Regions from separate parts of the Homo sapiens genome. Here region 2 is linked to region 1. The links are contacts of gene promoters, found by promoter capture Hi-C in blood cells and fetal thymus (Javierre and others, 2016). All regions are on one chromosome and are shown on one strand. Each heading gives the region's core, a stretch centred on a gene start or on the middle of the fragment in contact. The rest is flanking DNA. Distances are from core to core; before and after follow the strand shown. Region 1 holds the start of STAM (signal transducing adaptor molecule). Region 2 holds the start of PTER (phosphotriesterase related).

What was found. The method cuts DNA at HindIII sites, captures the fragments that hold promoters and counts their contacts. A CHiCAGO score of 5 or more calls a contact.
Region 2: the fragment with the promoter of PTER here is called in contact with the fragment with the promoter of STAM in region 1 in 1 of 17 cell types (naive CD8 T cells); the score reaches 5.9 in naive CD8 T cells.

The regions. Positions count from the first base shown.
Region 1 is chr10:17,641,107-17,645,905 of GRCh38, reverse strand. STAM (signal transducing adaptor molecule) reads right to left here and starts at 1,755. Exons shown (of 14, transcript NM_003473.4): 1 at 1,527-1,755. The coding sequence starts at 1,566. It overlaps STAM-DT (STAM divergent transcript), which reads left to right and starts at 1,988. Exons shown (of 1, transcript NR_110370.1): 1 at 1,988-4,622. RefSeq lists enhancers at 1,741-1,860, 2,011-2,080, 1,503-2,152, 2,153-2,801. The HindIII fragment of the contact is 8,791 bases long and covers 1-4,799 here.
Region 2 is chr10:16,434,702-16,439,517 of GRCh38, reverse strand. PTER (phosphotriesterase related) reads right to left here and starts at 2,508. Exons shown (of 5, transcript NM_001261836.2): 1 at 2,471-2,508. RefSeq lists enhancers at 1,914-1,963, 1,984-2,163 and a silencer at 2,584-2,633. The HindIII fragment of the contact is 4,684 bases long and covers 2,187-4,816 here.

The DNA.
Region 1 (4,799 bases), core at 506-3,005:
CTAGACAAAGGTGCTGTAAACAGAAGAAGCAAGTATTAAGAAGCTGTTTTAAGTATTTCCCCTAGAGATTCATGTAGTGAGATGTAAAACTGCTTGAGAACAGCAACTAGGCCTTGCTCATCACTGTATCTCTTATGTCACTGAGCTGCTGTGTCCTGTAGTGTGTGCTAACTGCTTATTAAATTAAATGCAATTTTCCAATTCATTAAGTATAATCGGTGATCTCCAAGGTTCTGTCCACTGCTAAGATTCAGGACACTCATTTAAGGTGGAACAAAAAAGGTAGCATCTAGTAAGTGCCAACCACATAAAGGTACTGTAGCAGGCCCTCTAGACATATTATTTAACTGCAGAATGGAATGATGTGTTTTCCCCTCTTTAAAGACAAGAACACTGGAACTCAAAGAATTTAACTTGCCTATGATTTCACCGTGAGCTGAGAAGTGGCAGAGGTAAGGAGTGAACTTTTTTCTACTCTTATATAAACTTCCAAGTTTCAGTGACATGCTCTAAGGAAGAGTTTAAAAAGAAAAATTCAACATCCACCTTTCATAATTAAAATACACAAAGACAAGTAAATTCATAAGGTTGTCCTTATTCACAGTAATGATTACATTCTGCCATAAGGGATTTGGAAATGGTATTTGGCTTGCTTTCATTCCACACTTGTGTGCCAAGGTAGTTCCTACGTGCGTTCAAATTAAACCAAAATTCTCTCCCCGGAAACTCAAATTCCCATAATTATTATCTTCAAGTCAGAAAAAAATAAAATAAAATAAAATTAAAAACCAAAAGCAAACCTATTGAATTGACATCATCAGTACCTAATACCAGTGATTCAGAAAACAACAAAAATGTAGCATTTCAAACTCTTTCCAGATTCAACAACTTCTTCCACACTTCTTTACACCTTTTAAAGTGCAGAGACCTAGCCTAAGAGAGACATCCCAAAGGCTCAGGTCCTCAATTCGGTTTCAGTCGTTGCCAAGTATTTCATCTTCATCGCTCCTAACATGTTTGAGAGTCTACCCTTAACCAGAGCTCCCTCCTTCAGTTACCGTTACAAAAGATTTTAAAATCCTCTAAGGAACCTTACCTAAAACATTCTGCCAGTTCCAGACGCTCAACATTTATTTGTCTAGGCAAGCACTTTTGGTACAGGGTTTACAATCCTAATCTAGCCAACATACGCCTTAAGCCCTTCGCTGTTCTTCCAGAAGCACAGTCCCTGCACCAGATGCTACACCAGCTGCTCCTCCCAGGCCCTTTACACCAACCCATTCAGCAGTTCTTTGGCAACCTACAGTCCTAGCTCAAGGCCCATTTCACAGGATGAGTCCCATTTCTTTCAAAGAGGATGCGCCAAGCCCTCAACCTCCTCCCAGCTCTGAAGGAGGGAGCCTCAGGAAAGGGGAAGAGCGAGCTCTTCCTTGGCCCTGGCCCGAGGGTCCTGAATGCAGGCAGGGGCTGGCAGAGTGAGCGTGCAGTCCGGTGAGGAATGGGCAGGGAGAGGCAAAAACACTTACCAACATCCTGATCGAAGGGATTGGTGGCAAAAAGAGGCATCTCCGCTGCGTGCCGAGGTGTCCCCGGGGACTCCCTCTCGACAGCACGGGAGTCAGAGCTCGACGTAGGATGGAAGACTCCTCAGGCAAAAAGAGCAACAGAGACCGACTCTACAGGGTCCGCGACAGCTCCTCCTCTCACCCAACCCCACCAACCGCGGCAGCAGCTGCGGCGGCGGCAACAGCAAGGAGCCGAGGAAGCCCCCGCGCGGAGCTTGTCGGGAATCTGGGCGACCTTGGCGCTGCCTGTCTCAAAGCTGCCCCGAGCCTGCCCCATCGGTAAAGGCTGAACAGGGAGTCCCCTCTGCCTGACTCCTCTTTTAATTAGTCACACATAAGAGTGGAATTAGTTCTTGTGTTTTCTGCTTTTCCCTTGGCTAGGAGTCTCCGTAGGACGGGGTCCTTCAGGCGTGCTGAAGCCTACTAACAACCCCAGGAGTGACTGGGAGAGCCAGGAGAAAGAAAGCAGGTTGAGTTCGGGTCGAGCTGTGCGCCTTTTTTCCTCTCGCTCTCTCGGTTATCATAACCTTGTATTCCCTCTGGAAGGAAATGGAAATTCCTTTGGATCATCTTCTAGGTAAACAGTTTAATTAGCTGCGTGAGGTGACAAACTTGCTCGGATGAAGTCATGGGAGCTGAACGAATTGGCCTGAATCCCAAGAGGGGAGTGTTCAGGGCGCGCGTGTCCCTCGGAGAGGCTGAGGTAACGCTGGCTCCTTCCCGGGAGTCCCTGAACGCCCGGCTTTGGAATCTGCAGACAGCTCTTCTAGCAGGGCGTTGGCACCTACTGACTAACCGTGCAATCACTCAGCAGCTGTGATGGTTGGTGACATGTCTTTCACAGCCCAAGATAGCCTCCCTAGACTGAGCAAAAAAAAGAAAACAGAAAAAAACTGGAGCTAAAAGTTGATCAGTGAGTGATTCCTAGCAACCCAAAATGTTGGTTTATTTATTTTACTTATAAGTTTAGTTAACCAATAAAAATTATTCTCTGTGTGATGGAGAAGTTTTAAGGAGCATCTACTAGAGATGTTGCGTCCCACTTGGAACAAACTTAGTAAGCACATCTTGTACGTAAATGGAAATTATCCCGCAAATTACGGCATCTCCAAATGTAGCGTGGAAACTAATATTGACATGTCAACACAGGATTAATACATAGTAATCAAAGAGTGCTTAAAAATTCATTAAAAATGAAGTCCCACCTCTAAAAGTGAAATGTGCAAATTAAAGTAGCAGTTAGATAATGTTTTGTCATTTAGGTAAAAATTACAAAGAATCGGCCGGGCGCGGTGGCTCACGCCTGTAATCCCAGCACTCTGGGAGGCCGAGGCCGGCAGATCACCTGAGGTCAGGAGTTCAAGACCAGCCTGGCCATGGTGAAACCCCGTCTCTACTAAAAGTACAAAAAATTAGCCGGGCGTGGTGGTGCGCGCTTGTAATCCCAGCTATTCGGGAGGCTGAGGCTGGGAATCGTTTGAACCCGGGAGCGAAACTCCGTCTCAAAAAAAGAAAAAAATTGCAAAGAATCAGGGATGTGAGGAGTCAGACACTCACATACTGTTGGATGAAGTGTAAATACTGTATAATCTTCCTAAGGGAAATATTTGGAAGCATGTAAAAAAATTTTTAAAACCTTAGGACCCAGCAATTCCATTTCGGCAAATTAATCCTAAAGACATTCTTTTAAAACATGAACAAAGGTATACATGGCAACATTGTCTAAAGGATCAAAGCATTGCCAGCCATTAAATGTCCCACATTGAGTGATTGGACAAATTGCTTCACCTCTTGGTGTCTCAGTTTCCTCATGTGTAAGAAACAGGAATAATAGGGTTGTGAGGATCAAATGAATTAGTACAAGCAAAACGCTTATTACAGTGCCTGGCATAGAGTAAGCACTAAATAAGTGTAACTGATCACTGTAATTTACACTGGTCAGTTAAATCATAGTACATAAGATGTGAAAACTACACAGCCATTTAAGGTGCATAATACAGATTCATATTTACATAGACATCTGAATACACAAGTTTTCAGAAGGAAGTTACAAACCTTATAAAATTACAAATGCCCACAATTTTAAAAATCTGAAAGGAAATACATGAGAATATTATGACATGATTGTCTCTGAGTGGCAAGATTCTAGACAATGTTTTTGTTCTTTGTGCATTTTATTATTCAAAATATTTTAATGATGAGCGTGTATTCCTTTCAAAAGCAGAAAAAATGTTAAAATACAACAATGTCAAAAATGGTATGTTGGTACCACCAGTTTCTTAATGTTTTGAAGGGCCAATACCAAAAGCGTGCTTGTGTTTCATTATGACAAGTATAGAATTATTCGGAAATATCACGACTGATACGGAAGTCAGAACATTCCCTCTCAAAAATGTGCTTTGATTGCTGGGCTGACAGAATTAGGTGACAACTTGTTTACCTTAAGATCCTGAGCAGTGTCTTGGGCCATTATCATAAGTGCCTGAGCCAGATATTGGTGGCTCAGACTGGGTGTATCAGAGCCAGATATTGATGAAAATGCATTTGTACATGTTCTGTACTCCGGACTGAATTACTCTGTTGCCAGCAATAAGCCAGGGCACAAACTGTTCAAGCCTTGATTATCAATATGTGTGCACTGGGAGTAATACATACTAGTATTGAGAGCAGTATCCGTGCATTCTGACCTAGAATGACTTTAGCTGTGGGGGCAGGGGGGTCTCGATGATTAATGTGCTGTATAAATAATAAACATTTTTTAAATATAAAATTTTTAATATTTAACTTAAAAGACAAACATAAAAAGTGAAATGCTTTGTATTTTGTGGTTAACGTCCCTTATTATCCCTTTAAAATACTGAAATTCTATGAGTTTCACTTTTAGTATTACCACAGTTTTTAAAACGTTTTGAAGACTACATATCAATGGCATATTAAAATGTTTCTGTAATGTTGTATGTTTAATAAATTCTGTGGTTGTTTGTTAAATGTTATATCCCTTTATTCTCAGTTTGATTTTGAAAATTCATCTACATTAAAAACAAAAATACTGGCCAAGTGTGGTGGCTCATGCCTGTAATCCTAGCACTTTGGGAGGCTGAGGCAGGTGGATCATCTGAGGTCAGGAGTTTGAGACCAGCCTGGCCAACATGGCGAAACTCGGTCTCTACCAAAAATACAAAAACTTAGCTGGGCGTGGTGGTGGGCAGCTGTAATCCCAGCTACTCAGGAGGA
Region 2 (4,816 bases), core at 1,259-3,758, 1.2 Mb after region 1:
TCAACTTAAAATAGTCACAGGGATCCTATGGCCAAGTCCTGGCACTGAGTACACGGTCATGTACTTCTCCAGATTCTAAATGATCTATTTTTGTGTTCTCTTACTCTCTGCTTCTATTTGGCTCAAAATTTACTGACACTTCAAAGGATATTAAATTGCATTTTTTTTCAGAAATGCTTCTCACTTTAGCCATATTGAAGGTATTTTCTGTCCTTCACAGGGAAGGGGAAATTTGCCCAGTGAAACTGATCTTTCCCTAAGTCCCTCCAGAAAAGCCACTGTCCTGATTTTCCTCCTGTCTCACTAGCCACCTTCTGGCTGGATACTCCGCTACTGACCTCCAAAATACACATTTATTGATCTTTGATTGAATAAACAGACCCTTCCTGACTACCTTGTAATTTCAGCAGCAAATATGACCCAAAACTGGAAGACCCTCTCAATCTATTCTGGTTTGAGGGCTGCCCAATTAAAAAGGAAAAAAACTGGCCCAAAATATCATTAAATGGTAAAATCAGGATCTTATCCTCATAAATCCATAGATTATTACATCCACTAGCGACCTAGAGACCACTTACCTTTTTTTTTTTTTTTTTTGAGACAGAGTCTTGCTCTGACACCCAGGCTGGAGTGCAGTGGTGTGATCTCAGCTCACAGCCGCCTCTGCCTCCCAGGTTCAAGCAATTCTCGTGCCTCAGCCTCTCCAGTAGCTGGGATTACAGGCATGCCCACCACCATGCCCAGCTAATTTTTTGAAGAAAAGAGGTTTCACATGTTGGCCAGGCTGGTCTCGAACTCCTGGCCTCAAGTGATCCACCTGCCTCAGCCTCCCAAAGTGCCGGGATTACAGGTGTGAGCCACCGCGCCTGGCCTGAGACCACTCACCTTAATGTGTCTAGAAAACAGGCAGGCCAGGCGCAGTGGCTCACGCCTGTAATCCTAGCACTTTGGGAGGCCGAGGCAGCCAGATCATTTGAGCCCAGGAGTTTGACACCAACCTGGACAAAATGGCAAAACCCCGTCTCTACCAAAAATACAAAAAAAAAAACAAAAAACAGAAAATAAAAACTAGCCGGGCGTGGTGGTGTGCACCTGTGGGAGACTGAGCTGGGAGGATCACTTGAACGGGGGAAGTGAAGGTTGCAGTGAGCTGTGATAGCACCACTGCACTCCAGCTTTGGTGAAATAATGAGACCTAGTCTTAAAAAGCAAGAGGCCGGGCGCGGTGGCTTACGCCTGTAATCCCAGCACTTTAGGAGGCCGAGGTGGGTGAATCACAAGGTCAGGAGTTCGAGATCAGCCTGGCCAGTATGGTGAAACCCCGTCTCTACTAAAAATACAAAAATTAGCTGTGTGTGGTGGAGCGCGCCTGTAGTCCCAGCCACTCAGAAGGCTGAGGCAAGAGAATCGCTTGATCCCGGGAGGCGGAGGTTGCAGTGAGCCGAGATCGCACCACTGCACTCCAGCCTGGGCAAGGGCGAGACTCTGTCTTTAAAAAAAGCAAAAGAAAACCAACTTGTAGAAAGTCACTGAGCTGGAACCAGAACTAGAATAGGGCTCTACTCTTTCTGGGTCCAAAGTTCTTTAAATCAGCAACCCCTCTTACTGCCTATGTAAGGGTATACCTTTAGTTCCTGTTGACTTGGGATGTACAAAGAATGAGGTAGTCTAAGAGAGTAACAGCACACTGGCTGTGGAGTCAGAAAGACTCCACCTCTAAACTTTGTTTCCATCTCTAAACTTTCCAGCAGTGTGGCCTAATTTTTCTGTACCTTAGCTTTGTCGTTATCACTAGAATCCTTCACAGGGCTGCAGAGTGGATTAAGCAAGAGTGCACAGGACTCAGACATATGACCGCTGGTAATTGGCTTTTATAAACTGTCAAAAAATATAGACCTGTAATGCCAGCACTTTGGGAGGCCGAGGCAGCAGACTGATTGAGCCCAGGAGTTCGAAACCAGCCTGGGCAACATGGCGAGACACTCTCTACAAAAAATACAAAAATAACCGGACATGGTGGCACGTGCCTGTAGTCGCAGCTACTCAGGAAGCTCAGGAGGCTGAGGCAGGAAGTTCGCTTGAGCTCAGGAGGTCGAGGCTGCAGTGAGCTGTGATCGCGCCAAATGCACTCTAGCCTGGGAAGCAGAGCCAGACCCTGAATCTAAAAAAAAAAAAAAAAAAAAGCTTATTAAAGGAGGCTTAGCACAGCTACCCGATGACGCCCCCGGGCATTGCTGTCGAGCCACAGGGAGCTGGCGCCACACGGGACTGGCGCTCTTTGCAACGTCCCTCAAGCACTTAAGGAGAGGCGGCAGGGCCCAAGCGCAGCGGCTAGAAAATCCTTCCTTCCGGCAGGACCCTCGCGTGGAGCTCTGCAGCGAACCCTGGCCGCGCGGCCTCCGCCGTCGGGCCCCACTCTTCCTACTGGGCCCACAGTTCCGGCTCCTGCTCTGACTCCAAGAAGCCTTACCTCGGGTACAACGCGCTGCCTTCTCCCTGGGAACTTCCGGCAGGCCAACTTCCCTGGCCTTTTTAGTCTCCCCTGTGCCCTCCCACTTCGCCCTCTGGTTCTCTCCCCGCCCCTGGCCCGAGGTCACGCCCTCACCGAGTCCTAGGACACGCCCCGTGGGTCCTTGCCAAGCCCTACCTCTTCGTAGGACACGCCCTTCAAACCCTTGCCACGCCCCACCCTGGTCCGGGGCCGTTCCCCGCGTTTTTGCCTGGCCACACCCTCCTGCAGGCGCTGTCTGACTGTCGGTAGTTTGGCTGAATGAAAAAAATTCGGGGCTAGATCCCCAAACGGAAAGAAACTGTTGCATTTTCCCCAGATCCCAGTTCTCCATAGAACAGTCTGGAACAAGGGAGCATTCCGTAGCTCTTTTGGTTTTCCCCAAGAATAAATCGGAGGTGGTGCTCTGGCAATTTGATGTCACAGTGGGTTCTGGATCCTCATGCTGCATACGGAGAACTTTGGTTTTTGTGTTCCCACTTGTCACTGTTTCCTGCCCCGGTGCCGCGTTTCCTTCTCTTTAGAATTAGAGTGCCGTGCTAGAGCACTTGAACTGGCCCTGGTACTTGCTGTGACTGAAATAAACTTAGTATGTGTGAGTCTGTTGGCAAAACATGATGCTTGGAGCAGCTGCCACAGTAAAGAGTCATACCTTTAGGTATTGTAGGGGGCCAAGGGCAAACCTCTCCTTCGTCCTCTGAAAGTTTGCTGAAAATCAACTGACAAAAGACAGTTTCACAGTAGAAAAGGCATACAAATATACTAGATCGTAACTTTATGTGATCCGGGAGCCTTCAGAATGAAAACCCAAAGATGCAGGGGAAACGGTCCATTTTTTCGCTTAGGTTCAATAAAGTATGGACCGCCATGTATTCAGCTGGTGCAAAAGTAATTGCGGTTTTTAATGGCAAAAACCGCAATTACTTCTGCACCAACCTAAGAGATACTACGATGGCATAAAAAGGGTCTGAGCTAATGCCAATAGACTAAGTGAGCAAGCCCTGTCTGTTTAGATTCTTTTTGGCTTTTCTGTGCAGTGTTCCTTCCTTCTGGGTATAGAGCAGGATCCTTTCTGGAATGGGGGTCTTATGACCTACAGTCAAACAAAGCAGGGCAGAGAATTTCTTTACCGCCAGTTTTGACACAGAAAGGCAGGGGACACGCAGAGTCAAACTTTTAGGTTTTATGCTTGGCTTTGGGGATGAGGGGTTCTGGCTTCTGTGAATCACCTTGGGGAAGAGGGATTCCAGTTTCTAGAATGAGGGGCCAGAGGCAGGAGGACATGAGGTTAGAGAGAGCTGCTTCTAAGGCCTTCATTTTGGGGTATCATTTTCTGAACCCCAACCATATTACACTGTCATCAATTATTATTATTATTATTTTGAAATGGCTCTGTTGCCCAGGATGGATTTCAGTGGTGCAGTCATAGCTCACTGCAGCCTTGAACTCCTGGGCTCAAGGGATCCTCCTGCCTCAGCCTCCTGAGCAGCTGGGACTACAGGTGTGCACCACCACACTCAGCTAATATTTGTAATTTTTGTAGAGATGGAGGTCTCGCTATGATGCCCAGCCTGGTCTCAAACTCCTAAGCTCAAAGGATCCTCCCACCTCAGCCTCCCAAAGTGTTAGGACTACATGCATAAGCCACAGCACAAGGCCTAGTCAATTAATTTTATCCTGAATTCTGAGAAAAAAGAGAATAGGTATGCAGATGGGCAGAAGCTACAGATGTCATTTCAAAGGAAAGTAGAGTTTTAATAATAATATTAATAGATGATGTTTATCGGGGCCAACTCTACCAGGTTTTGTAATGGGTGTATGTTATTTTGTTTAAGATTTTGAGCAACCTGCATGTGGCAGGAGCTATTTCCCTCCAATTACAGACAAGAAAACAAACTTAGGCAAGCACCTTGTTCAAGGATAGGACTAGGGACCCAGATTAGTTGATATCAGTCACTACACTTGCCTTCTTAGTAAAGAATGGGGAATTTTTTTGGTTTGTTTGTTTGTTTGTTTTTGAGACAGAGTCTTGCTCTGTTGCCCAGGCTGGAGTGCAGTGGTGCAATCTCACCTCACTGCAGCCTCCACCTCCTGGTTTCAAGGGATTCTCCTGCCTCAGCCTCCTGAGTAGCTGGGATTACAGGCACGCCCCACCATGCTCAGCTAATTTTGTGTAATTTTAGTAGACATGAGGTTTTGCCATGCTGGCCAGGTTGGTCTCGAACTCCTGACCTCAACTGATCCACCTGCCTTGACCTCCCAAAGTGCTGGGATTACAGGCGTGAGCCACCGCACCAGGAGAGAATG